Regions from separate parts of the Homo sapiens genome. Here all the other regions are linked to region 3. Evidence: promoter capture Hi-C in 16 types of primary human blood cells and fetal thymus (Javierre and others, 2016). All regions are on one chromosome and are shown on one strand. The core of a region is centred on a gene start or on the middle of the fragment in contact, and the rest is flanking DNA. Distances in the headings are between cores, read along the strand shown.

Region 1 (4,329 bases), core at 1,616-4,115, 3.6 Mb before region 3:
TACCCCCAGTCACCACTTTACACCAGAACAATGACCCCAATGAAGAGAAATGCAGACAGTGAGCACAAGCTGCAGGGAGCCACCGCCCACCCACTGGGACTCAAGACCAACATTCACATCCAAACCTATGTCTGTAACCACAGTGGTAAGCAAACATGACTAGTAACTTAAAGCATGGTCTTTCTTTAGGTTTTCTTCTTCGGGAGCAATCTCCCTTGCTCCTGGATACAAACTCTGGCAGGCCCCCGGGCTTTCTATTTATTCTTTTGTAATAGATAGTCCCAGAGTCACTTTAAATCACACGCATGGTCTTAATTTCTGTAAATAAAATGTCCGGCTGAAGATAGTAATCAAAATCCTGTATACAACTATATTAAATCCACCCCTTCTCCCTCCCATGTCCTCATCCCTACACCCACCCTGTCCCTGAATTCCCCCACCCTTTTCAGGCTGCCACCTGCACTGCAGAAAGGACGTGTGGTCATCTGCTCTTTAATGAGCCTAATGGAGTTTCTTGACTCAACTTGCCGCCTTGCTCCAGGAAAGCAAGAGAGAAAAGCGTGTAGGAAGTGAGGGCTGTTCTTTTGTGGCTGGGAGGTTTCCAGCACTCTGGGCCTGGCAGATGGTGAAAGTGACTCTTTTTCTTGGGTGCGCTCTTTAGAATCTCTTGCTGGATCTCTGCCTTGTGGTCTTATGACCTGGATGGGTGCATCTCCAGTCCAAATAGTGGGTGGAGTCACCCTTCTCAACTGCTTGTCACCTGGCAGCTCAACTCTAGCCCTCTTCACCATGAGGCCTGCTTGTCCCTCCAGAGAAGTCTGTTGAACGAGACCTGAGAGGACCCCAGCAACAGTCTCCATGGCATGCTCCTGGGAAAACACTCCCATTTTTCCAGCTCCAAGGCACCACGGCAAGAACATCTCTAGCTCATCGTCTTGCAGGTGGTCAGCTCTTGCCTCTCCCTCTTCATTTCCCAGGCAGGCATCAGATCTCAATCTACAAACCATTTTGATTATCTCAGTCAAGTGTTATGTTCCAGTTTTTAAAGCCCCAAATTTGGAGAGATACAGGTAAAGCTCTCTTGAAGCCCATACATTCATGGGGCTCAAAGTGAGGGGAAGACTCCTCCTACCCCTATGTGATGGGGAAAGAAAATAGCCCAGAACTCTGATGCCTTTTTCTCAAGTTCTCTTCACTCAGCTCCTTACATACAAGACCTACAGAATGCCTCTGCTTCCCTGGTCCTTATCAGGCTCCACTGATGCAACAGGAACCAAATTCCTGACATAGGGAAAATGGACTTCAGAGCATAATTTCATCTAGATATATCAGACTTACAATGTTCTCTCACTTTCTCCTCTCTTAATTCCATTTCAATATTCTTTATCTGACTCCTCTATTTGATTGAAGAGCGCAAATCGTATTAAACAGAATCATTATATAATCATTTAATAACAAATGTTATTAAAAAGAATCATCTGCTTAATAACTCAGTGCAAGGGACACAGGGAGTCGGGAGGAAGGAGAAAGTCTATCTCACACATGCCTTGGAACCATGACATCCACTGCATTGCTACCCCTATAGAAACTATAAGGACTCAATAAAAACAATAGGAAACTATAAACTCTGTCGGTATTAATGCTAAGGGTCCAGTGCCCCAAAAGGCAAAACCAGGTAAGCAAGCTGACACCTATCCTCCAACTATTACAAATTCAATCTGAACAATGCTTATTTCTTTGCTATGTTGCCTGCATTTCCAGAAAAGCCCTCTCTAGGGTCTGACCTCATATAATTCACGCACCTTATTCCCATAAGGGAAATCTAAGAAATTGCTTTCCATCGTGCTGCATCTCATACCAAGTTGAGAAATCCCCTCTGATCTGCTGAACTTCTGAAGTCCCAGAAGTAGAAAAACATTAAGAAATATAAGAAAGGTCAAAAATCTGAAAATGCCACTTGTAAATGGACAGTCTTATTGAGCAGACAGGTCTCCTCAGGTGGTGAACAAAGCTTACATTAGAGCTTAGGAAAGAATGAAAGGGATAAGTTTCTTTCAGCACTTTAATTTTGAGCCAAGGACAAAGTTATGAATTTCAGAGGCGGGTTCCAGGTGACATACGCTAAACACACAACTACCACTGAGCACTAACATAGAACCTCAACAGAGTAAGAAATGACAGGGTTGCCTTGCTAGGGATGTGGGAGATAAGAGCAGCTGACTTCTCAACATGAAGACTACAGCAGACTCTGGCACCTGGATAGATCTTCTGTCATCCCCTGAAGGGCTTCCAACAATAAACAAACAACACAAATAGACAAAGAAAAAACAAAAGCCCGTTGATAATAAAGTCAAAACTTTGATACCATCAAATAACGAAACCAGTCAAAGACATTTTGGGGATTTTTTTTATTAGGCTTCTTTTAAGGGTAGCTTTAGGTTCACAGCAAATTTAAGTGAAAGTACAGAGAGTTCCCATATGACTCCTGTCCCCCTCCCTTGTACACACACAGCCTCCCCTGCTATCAACATCTACCCTAGAGTGGTACACTTGTTGCAACTGATGAACCAACACTGACCTATTATTATCGCCCAAATCCGCAGTTTACGTTAGGGTTCATCCTAGACTTATATATTCTACAAGTCTGGACTAATGTATAATAACAATGTGTCCACCATTTTAGTATCATATAGAATAGTTTCGCTACCCTGGAAGTCCTCTGTGTTTGATCTATTCATCCCTCCCTTCCTGCAACCCATGACAACCATGCAGCCTTTTCTTTTTTTTTTTTTTTTGACATGGAGTCTCGCTCTGTCCCCAGGCTGGAGTGTGGTGGCGCAATCTCAGCTCACTGGAACCTCCACCTCCCGGGTTCAAGCAATTTCCCTGCTTCAGCCCCCCGAGTAGCTGGGACTATAGGCGCACACGCCACCACACCCAGCTAATTTTTGTACTTTTAGTAGAGACGGGGTTTCACGATGTTGGCCAGGATGGTCTCGATCTCTTGACCTCGTGATCCGCCCGCCTCAGCATCCCAAAGTGCTGGGATTACAGGCGTGAGCCACCAGGTCCGGCCAACCATGGACTTTCTTACCGTCTCCGTAGTTTTATCTTTTCCAGAATGTCATGTATTTGGAGTCATAGATAATGCAGCCCTTTCAGATTGGCTCTTTTGCTTAGTAATAAGCATTTAATTTTCCTCTATGTCTTTTTATGGCTTAATAGCTCATTTCTTTTTAGCTGAATAATATTCCATTGTATGGATGTACCAAAATCCATCCACTTACCAAAGGACATCTTAGATGAATTCAGGTTTTGAATGAACTTTGTGTGAATATATAAGTTTTCATCAATTCAGTTGGGTAAAGGCAGCTTGATTGTTGGATCTTACAGTAAGATTATGTTTAGTTTTATAAGAAACTGCGAAACTGTTTTCCAATGTGGCTGAACCACTCTGCATTTCCACCAGTAATGAGAATGAGAGTTGCTGTTGCTCCACGGCCTCACCAGCATTTGGTGGTGTCAGTGTCTTGGATTTTAGCCATCCTAATAAGTGTTAGTGGCTATCATTGTTTTCATTTGCAATTCTCTTACATGGTGTTGAACATCTTTCCCCATGTTTATTTGTCATCTGCATATCTTCTTCGGCCAGTTATCTGTTCAGATCTTTTGCCCGTTTTTGTTTGCTTGCATGTTTGTTTGTGTTTGATTTTTTAAAGAAAGCTTTTTTTATTATTGAGTTGTAATAGTGCTTGTATAGTGTGGATAACAGTTCTCTATCAGATAGGTCTTTTGCAAATATTTTCCCCAATCTGTGGACTGTCTTCTCATTCTTTTGATAAATGGCTTTAAAATAATAATCTGGCTGGGCGCAGTGGCTCATGCCTGTAATTCCAGCACTTTGGGAGGCCAAGGGCAGATCATCTGAGGTCGGGAGTTCGAGACCAGCCTGACCAACATGGAGAAACCCCATCTCTACTAAAAATATAAAATTAGTCGGGCGTGGAGGCACATGCCTGTAATCCCAGCTACTTGAGAGGCTGAGACAGGATAATCGCTTGAACCCGGGAGGTGGAGGTTGCAGTGAGCCGAAATCGTGCCACTGTATTCCAGCCTGGACAATAAGAGCAAAACTCCATCTCAAAAAAAAAAAAAAAACTACCTTTTAATTAAAAACAATTTGCTTTAGTGAGAAATGCATGATAATGATAGTGTCTGAGGAACTGCTCAGTGATTGAAAGGAACATTTTATTGTATTAGATAAATGATATGGTAAAAATAAAGCAAAGCAAAATTAAAACATGCAAATAAAATTTTGATAATTTTTAA
Region 2 (3,841 bases), core at 720-3,219, 4.0 Mb after region 3:
AAAGTCAGGTTACAAGAACTGAGTAGTTCACTTTCTGTCCTTTTAGGTGAGCTATTGTTTAGTTGAAGAGAAAAATCTGCAGGCTTCTGTTGTCAGGATATAATATTCCCTGAGCTTACTGGATAAGCCACTGATGCGAGGATTAGACTCACTGACACATGAAAATGCTTAGGCAACCGCCTCGAAAACATTGGTCAAAACATTCTAAGTGTTATAAGGGATGCTTGGCAAGGCCTCACGCTTAGTCTTAAAAAGCCTTCTCAAAAGTAATTTATACCAATGAGCCGTGGCAAATTCACCTATTCTATAAGTACGCAGTGACTCAACAAGCCTTTTGATCCATTTATAGAATGGCAACAATTATATTTTAATGAGTTATTTTCACTTACTTGTCAGAACCTGTTTTGGTAATCTAAATAACTTCACATCCTCTTAACATTCCTTATGAGGCTGTCTGAGAGAAAAACAGGCTCAGTTTTCTTTTAAGTCTCCAATCTCAGCTAAGTGACAAATGAAGCTGCTATAGCGACCACACTCCTGCTGGCTTATGGCCAAACTCACGTTTTCTTTTTTTCTTTTCCAACATCATAAATCTATTTTTTTCACAGATGAAATAACTTTCTGGTCCCATTTCTTCTTTCATGCTAGTATAGCACATTTTAAAACACTTTCCCCCCAAAAAAAGTCTTTACAGTATGATTCGATTAATAACTGGGTTTTTAGGAAAACTATTTTCAATATAAAGGCCAGAATCTCTAGATTTCTTTTACTGCATATCAAAGGTGGAAAGAGAGGCAATTGTCAAGCTCTTTCAACCTAGAGCCGCAATAAAACATGAATAACATCTAAACATTTTGTTTCCTTATTTTCATTTATTGGGTATTTCTTAAAGAAAAAAAAATCTCATAATTTACAGTAATAGCTAAATCTACTCATTCCCACGTGCCACTTCCACCACCAAATCCCCCAAACAGGACTCAAATGTAAATTTCACAGAGCTCTACAAACCACAGACAAAACAAAACAACCCCAAAGTCTGAAAACCACAGTCTCCTTTCAATCTTGCGGGTAGCAGCCTAAAAAAACATAAGCCTTGTTTAAAAGGTCAACGCACTACACTTCTCAGTGAAATAAATAACCAGCCTTTCCTGCCCTTCAGTCTAGTTCTGTATCGATGAACAAAAGCTCCTGTCGTTTCTTTTGTATCATCAGGAAAACAAAAAGTTTACATAAATGTATGTCAGGGCAATAAAAGTGACTTCTGTCGCCAGCATCCAGCCACCACATTTGGAGGATCCGAGCGGCCTCCGACCTCACGAAGGAAGCCAGAAATCTCACATCTGCCACGCAAAGCAAAGGACATAGGTCACCTTGTGCAATGTCCGCTTTACCTCAGGCCAGGGTTCCTTTTCTTCTAATTCTGTTCCTTGGCTGTGCTGAGCAGAGAACTCCTCCAGGCTTCAAGTTCAGAACACGGCCAAGAGGCTTTGTAGATGCCAGACCTCAGCCCGACAGACTGAGGCTCCCACCTGCCTGGGTTACATATCAGGCTTCTCTCCGAAGCTCGGCTAAGGCAACGTGCATCCCTCTAGAGACGCACTCCGGAAACCAGCCCCGTGTGCGGCGGGCAGGCACGCTCTCTCACGCCTCCTCTCCTCGCTTTACTTACTAGTTCAACACACCAGCAACCACAATGGGCCAGTCCATGTTCCCAAAAAAGGAGGGGGAGTAGATTTACTTTCTTTCTTTTTTTAAATGCAGGTAGGAAAGTACCATTTCTTTGCATTCACTCACTATTGTCTGCATGTGAAACCGACAGTGATTGTCCCTGAGGCATAAGCTTGTACTGAAACGAGATTCTTAGGCTTTTTGAGTTTCTTTCTCGGATTTGAGATGATGGAAAGGTGCCTAGCTGAGCACAGCCATCACACAGCCTGCAGCCTCCTCGCAAGTCCCTGCTTTTGAGGTACATGTAAGGAACCCCTTATGCAAAAGTATAACAAAACTGAGTTCAACTTTTTATTCCCTTTTGTTACTTCAGAATTTCCATATTATTCTGCAGTACTGTCTGAGACAAATATGATTGGAAAACCTCTTATCAAGCTTTCTTGATTCATATTTTTGGTACATTTTGTATTGTGTGTTTTTAATTGTAGCAGAAAATTACTGGCTAGCTACTGGCTATGTTGCAGGCATTTTATACACACAGCCTCATTTTCAACGAAACCATCCCTGCAGAAATCTCAGGTGAGCCAGTGACTGAGGGGAAGCTGCAGGCTCTCTATGCATGTGAACAGAGAGGAGGAACTGGAAGTTTCTCCAGTGATGGCACAGCCCTTTTAATGTACTCTTTCTTAGGATGATGGAAAGATTTCTGTAACAACTCTTGTCTTTTTTTTTTTTTTTTTTGAGATGGGATCTCTGTCACCCATGCTAGAGTGCAGTGGCACGATCATAGCGCAATCAGCTCACTGCAACCTCCAACTCCTGGGTCCAAGCGATTGTCCCACCTCAGCCTCCTGAGTAGCTGGGATTACAGGTGTGAGCCACCATGCCTGGCTAATTTTTAAAGTTTTTTTTTTTTTTTGAGACGGAGTCTCGCTCTGTTGCCCACGCTAGAGTGCAGTGGCGTGATCTTGGCTCACTGTAACCTCCGCCTCCCAGTTTCAAGCAATTCTCCTGCCTCAGCCTCCTGAGTAGCTGGGACTACAGGTATGCACCACCACACCCAGCTAATTTTTGTATTTTTAGTAGAGATGGGGTTTCACCACATTGGCCAGGATGGTCTCGATCTCTTGACCTTGTGATCCGCCCGCCTCAGCCTCCCAAAGTGCTGGGATTACAGGCGTGAGCCACTGCGCCCGGCAATTTTTAAATTTTTTGTGGAGACAGGATCTCACTATGTTGCCCAGGCTGGTCTTGAATTCCTCACCTCAAGTGATCCTCCTGCCTCAGCCTCCCAAAGTGCTGCAATTATAGGTGTGAGCCACCCTGCCCTGCCACGTTTGTCATTTTTAAGAAGACTAGGATGATTTACGAAATTTTTTAGGGAGATTATTTGCCCACAAAGATCAGGAAATGAAAAGACCCTTTTATATAGACATGTGGAATCTCTCTAAGCTGGTTTGGAAGAAGTCCCAAGCAGTGCTGAGAAAATGTAAGGTTTTAGCAACAAAGCCGTGCTTCTAAAATGAAGAGGAGACTATTGGCTTATACATCATAATAATGACAGGGGTCTCACTAAATTTCTAGTGCATTTTTCTTCTGAGGAGTCAGAAACCTCCATCAATGTGTCCTCACCACACCCTTATAGGGCCAGATCCTCAAAGTGGCATCTGTGGACTTCCCTGTACCAGAATCACCCAGGGCAGGGCTGCATGTTCACATGCAGATTCCCAGGCCTCCTGAATCAGAATGTCTGGGGTGAGGCCTGAGAATCCATACTTCATTATTTTTTAAAAGCATGAATAACTTCATTTTTATTGTGGTAAGAACACAACATGAGATGTACTGTCTTCAATTTTTAAGTGCACAATACAGTATTGTTAATGATAGGCACCATGTTGTGCTGGGAATCCACACTTCAAACAAGATATGCAGGTGATTGTTAGGCATAGTGGTTTTAGAACCTCAGCCTTAGATGGTAAGACCATTTGGGGTTAAGGATGGTACCTTTTACCTCTGTAACCCCTGCACCTCACCTCATGTTTAAGATATTAGCATGCAATGTCTGTCAGAGGAGTGAAGGTGTCCCCCTTTACAAAGGTAAAATGGGACACTTACCCAGGCTTCTAGTCACATGGCAAGAAGTAACTTGAGCGTCAGAATTAGGCTCACTACC
Region 3 (4,265 bases), core at 786-3,285:
CCTCCCATCCATCCCCCAGACTCCGGACCCCACCACCACTCTCAAATAAAGCACCGATCCCGCACAGAGCCGCCTCAGCGATGTTCCCAAATGCTATCCGGATCTTGTCACTGAGTAAGATCCCTCGTTGGGGACTGCCCGGCCAAAGACTAAGACCCAAATGACTCAAAACAGCACAAGGCCCTCTGTTGCCTGACCCTGCTTAATCTGCTAATAAATACCAGAAGGGCCTTAGTCTCCCACATACCTCCAGTACGCACCATGCTGGGGGGGTTGCGTTTTTTGTTTTCTTTACCCCAAGCAGTTTCCTCTGCCTGGAATCTCCCCTCCTGCTTCGCAGCCTGGCTTACAATTCATTCCTCGGAGTTGGCCTCAGCTCTCCTCTCCTCGGGAGGCCTTCTCCAGCCCACGCCCCACCCTGCCACACCCCTACTGGGCGCTCTTCCCCACGGACTACAGGCCTTCCCCTTCCCTCTGGGCTGGGGGCAGCTGGGGCTGAGTATAAGTCTTACTCACGTTGGTGCCGCCAGCCCCAAAACAAAGCCTGGCCCACGTGGGTGCTCCGCGTATGTGTGTGGCTCTAGGCGGAGATGCCGGGGGTGGAAAGAGCCGGTAACAGAAACAGAACGTGCTAGAGGAAGAGCAGCCTGCAGGGAAGGCTGGCACAGATAACCACAAAAAGAAAGAAGGCCCCCGCATCACGTCTTCACCAAGACCCCACTGGCAAGGCGAGGACAGCGCCTTTGGGTGGATGCATCTGTGACCCAGAGGCAATGCTGGCTGTCCTGGTGTCTGATTTGATTGCATCTGATTTCAAAATTTGATCTCTGCTTCCTTCTGAAAACCTCATTCCCTTATGTCAGTTGTCAACAAGCCCTTGTCTAGTGCGGGCAGACTGTTTTCCATCAAGCAGTCCCAGCCAGGCTAACAATAAAATGGTTGGCAGTGAGCTTGGGGGCAGAAACCTGTTTCCATCCATGTGTCCCCGCAGCTAGCAAAGCCCTGGCACACGGCTGACCCTCAATAAATGCTTGCTGAATGGGTGAATTGTGTCTGCTTCCCCAGGAATAGGGGTGGGAGGCCTGAAGCCCCTGGGGACCGGTGGGGGCAGACAGCCTGAGATTAAACTTGATCCATAGATAATCCCCCAAATCCAGAAGCCACCTGGACAACAGTTGGCTGAACTGAGCTCCATCGTGGGATACATGCTGATGGTACTGCTGAGTTCACCAAGGGTCTCCCCGGGACCAGAAAACAGCTCCTCAAAATACAACTTATTATTCTAATCATTATTGGAGAGTGACAGAGAAAAGAGCGTCAATCCTTTGAGGGCAGAATCCATTTAGGAAGATTAAATGGCTATTCTCACCGCCGACCCCCAACCCCCGTTTTTACTTTTACAAACTTTATTATGAAAAATATCAAACATACAGAAAAGTGGAGAAAACAGTATAACGAATCCGGCCACCCATCACCCAGCCTCAGCGATGACCAACCCGCGCCTGACCTCTCCAGTCATCTATACCCCACCCCTCGAGGCAAATCTCCGACGTCCTCTCCTTACACGCGCAGACCTCGGTAGCGACGGGAATCCGTTCCGGACTCCTCTGGGGCCCTGGCCGGCTCCCTCGGCCCTGCTCAGCGCGGCGCGGGCGGGTTCTCAGCCCACGTCCGTGAAGCTGAAGGCCGGATCGTGCGGCGCCGCCCCGCCCCCCACGGCGCTTCCTCCTCGGTCCGCACCGCGAGGGTCACCGCGGCCCCGGAGCGCCTGGGACACTCGACCGGCAGCCGCGGGTGATGCGCGAGTGAGTCCCTCAGCGAAGCGCGGAAGAGAGAACGAAGAGGCGCCTTCCACTTCCTCTCGCTCTAACGCCGGCACCCGCCCCGCGCGTCCCTCGCCCCCGCTGCCCCGCCCCCTGCAGGGCGTGGCCACGGCCCGAGGGGCGGGGAAACACCCATATTTGGCCTTATATGGGCAGCCGCGTCACGGACGGCACTCATTCACATAAAACGCTGCGCGGCCGGCGGAATCCCCGGCTTCTAGGGCGGCGAGCGGCCGGGCTGGCTATCGAGCGAGCGGGGCGGGAACGCGGAGTTGCGCCGCCGCTCGGGCGCCGGGCTCCGTCGCGGCCGCAGCCCCGCGGGTCGCCCTCCCGTGCCTCGCCCGCGGACACCCTGGCCGTGGACACCCTGGCCGTGGGCACCCGCGGGGCGCGCGGCGCGGGGCCGCTGGCCGGCGGCGGCGGCGGCATGAAGGTCACGTCGCTCGACGGGCGCCAGCTGCGCAAGATGCTCCGCAAGGAGGCGGCGGCGCGCTGCGTGGTGCTCGACTGCCGGCCCTATCTGGCCTTCGCTGCCTCGAACGTGCGCGGCTCGCTCAACGTCAACCTCAACTCGGTGGTGCTGCGGCGGGCCCGGGGCGGCGCGGTGTCGGCGCGCTACGTGCTGCCCGACGAGGCGGCGCGCGCGCGGCTCCTGCAGGAGGGCGGCGGCGGCGTCGCGGCCGTGGTGGTGCTGGACCAGGGCAGCCGCCACTGGCAGAAGCTGCGAGAGGAGAGCGCCGCGCGTGTCGTCCTCACCTCGCTACTCGCTTGCCTACCCGCCGGCCCGCGGGTCTACTTCCTCAAAGGTGAGCGCTCGGGGTCCCTGCCACGCTCGCCCCTCCGGCGCCCCCGGGTCCCCTCCCTGCGCCGGGGCGCCCTCCTACACCCTGGGACCGGGAGAGTCACCACCTGCAGGAGTCTGCACCCTGTGGCTTGTTGTGCGCTTGGGAGGGCACTGCAAATGTCAGCACTCAGAGCTCCCCCTCTTCCCCACCCGCGTTCCTCGAAAGCGCCCGGCAGCGGGTCTGCCCGGTGGTCTGGGTGGAGTTGGTTATGCTGCGGGGGCTGCTGCTGTTTAGCAGTTTGGGGGCCGTCGGCTCGTGCCGGGCACGAGCCCCCTTTCCAGACGCGAGCTTCGCCGCTGTCGCTGGGGTCAGGGCTCGGGGCCTTCCTGATAGACTGATCTGGCGGGATCAGCAGGTCGCGATCCACTCTCCCTTGGTGTGGCGCCGTGGTGCCCCCCTTCCTCCCGCCTAGCCAGCTGTGGTCTTCACCGACCCCCTTGCCTTTTTGACCTGGCGAGTCCCTTCCCTTTCCATTTCATTTTATTGCTTTTTATTGTTTCCCTCCGGCCTCTTCTCCCCTCCTAGGTCTTTTCTCTAGCTCAGTTTGGAGCTCACATCCTTTCCACCCTTTTCACCTCCTCCTTCCTCCGCCCCAGGATTATCCCTGGGACCCATCCTGAGCTGAGCCTACAGCCAGCCAGCCACGAAATAGAGGTGCGCGGGGGCAGGGTGGTATGGAGATTCTGCGGCCTTTGATTTGACACCTCCCGGAGCTACCGCCACAGGCCTGCCCATTTCACCTGCCGGGAAGATAACTTTGGCTTCTGGTGGTGGGTGGGTGATTGACTCTCAAAATCCAAAGCATTGGTTTTTTCTGGGTTACTTCCTATGACTGCTCCTGCTTTGTGTTTGAGTCCTTTGTAACCTCAAATGACACCCGGGGAGACCTGACCCACATGTAGAGATGAGGGTTTAGCCCCAGCAGGGCCCCAAGGCCGTGCCAGCCCTGGCGCGGACACCTTGGGATGTAACAGTGTTGGGGATCAGAGCTCGGTGCAGAGAGCCGGCGCCGAGTTAGGAGCCTGTTTTAAAGCCATGCAACTTGAGTTTCACACAGTCCGGGCCAGGAAGATTCTGGAGACAGTTCCCCTCTCTGCTAGCACCTCCTGCTGACTGGTCCCCTGTTGATTTCCTGTTGGAGAGTTAACAGAGGTAGATGGTAATCGTCCTTCTTCTAACAGCCTATCCCCCAGGGGATAGAGGGTTGGCCCTCTGGCTCTGCAGAGGTTTCAGCGTGCCTCCTGATTTCTTTCTCTTCCTAATATGGTTTTTATCTCCTGTGGTTTGGAGAAGTTTCTGCCTCAGTAGTATGAAAGAGGTTCCAGGAGACCCTCCCTGGTCCCACCTCTCCTCCCCATGCTTCTCTAAGCTGGCCCTGCTGACAGTTTAGAAGTTGTCGCCACAAAGTAGGCAGCTCTATAGACTCACATCTCAGGAAAACTGGGTTAAAATGTTTTTTAAAAGAAGGTAACATATACACAGGTAAAAATTTGAACAGCATGAAGGCCCTGTGATGAGAAGCGGGTCTTCTGCATATCTTAGAACCCAGTTCCACTCCCCAGAGACAGTCGTCAACTATTTTTTGTTTACCTTTAGA

The links. Contacts are between HindIII fragments. The CHiCAGO score rates a contact against its expected background, and 5 or more counts as called.
Region 1: a fragment that was not itself captured here is called in contact with the fragment with the promoter of DUSP5 in region 3 in 1 of 17 cell types (M2 macrophages); the score reaches 5.3 in M2 macrophages.
Region 2: a fragment that was not itself captured here is called in contact with the fragment with the promoter of DUSP5 in region 3 in 1 of 17 cell types (total B cells); the score reaches 5.6 in total B cells.

The regions. Positions count from the first base shown.
Region 1 is chr10:106,920,113-106,924,441 of GRCh38, forward strand. All of the region lies in intron 2 of SORCS1 (sortilin related VPS10 domain containing receptor 1), which reads right to left. Among named protein-coding and RNA genes, the nearest start is that of SORCS1, 240 kb to the right of the region's middle. The HindIII fragment of the contact is 1,712 bases long and covers 2,010-3,721 here.
Region 2 is chr10:114,525,269-114,529,109 of GRCh38, forward strand. All of the region lies in intron 6 of ABLIM1 (actin binding LIM protein 1), which reads right to left. Among named protein-coding and RNA genes, the nearest start is that of AFAP1L2, 120 kb to the left of the region's middle. RefSeq lists enhancers at 1,361-1,480, 1,651-1,880. The HindIII fragment of the contact is 263 bases long and covers 1,839-2,101 here.
Region 3 is chr10:110,495,872-110,500,136 of GRCh38, forward strand. It overlaps DUSP5 (dual specificity phosphatase 5), which reads left to right and starts at 2,036. Exons shown (of 4, transcript NM_004419.4): 1 at 2,036-2,629. The coding sequence starts at 2,251. It overlaps DUSP5-DT (DUSP5 divergent transcript), which reads right to left and starts at 611. Exons shown (of 2, transcript NR_187547.1): 1 at 517-611. RefSeq lists an enhancer at 558-1,081 and silencers at 1,563-2,092, 2,103-2,242, 2,313-2,372, 2,493-2,762. The HindIII fragment of the contact is 7,811 bases long and covers 1-4,265 here.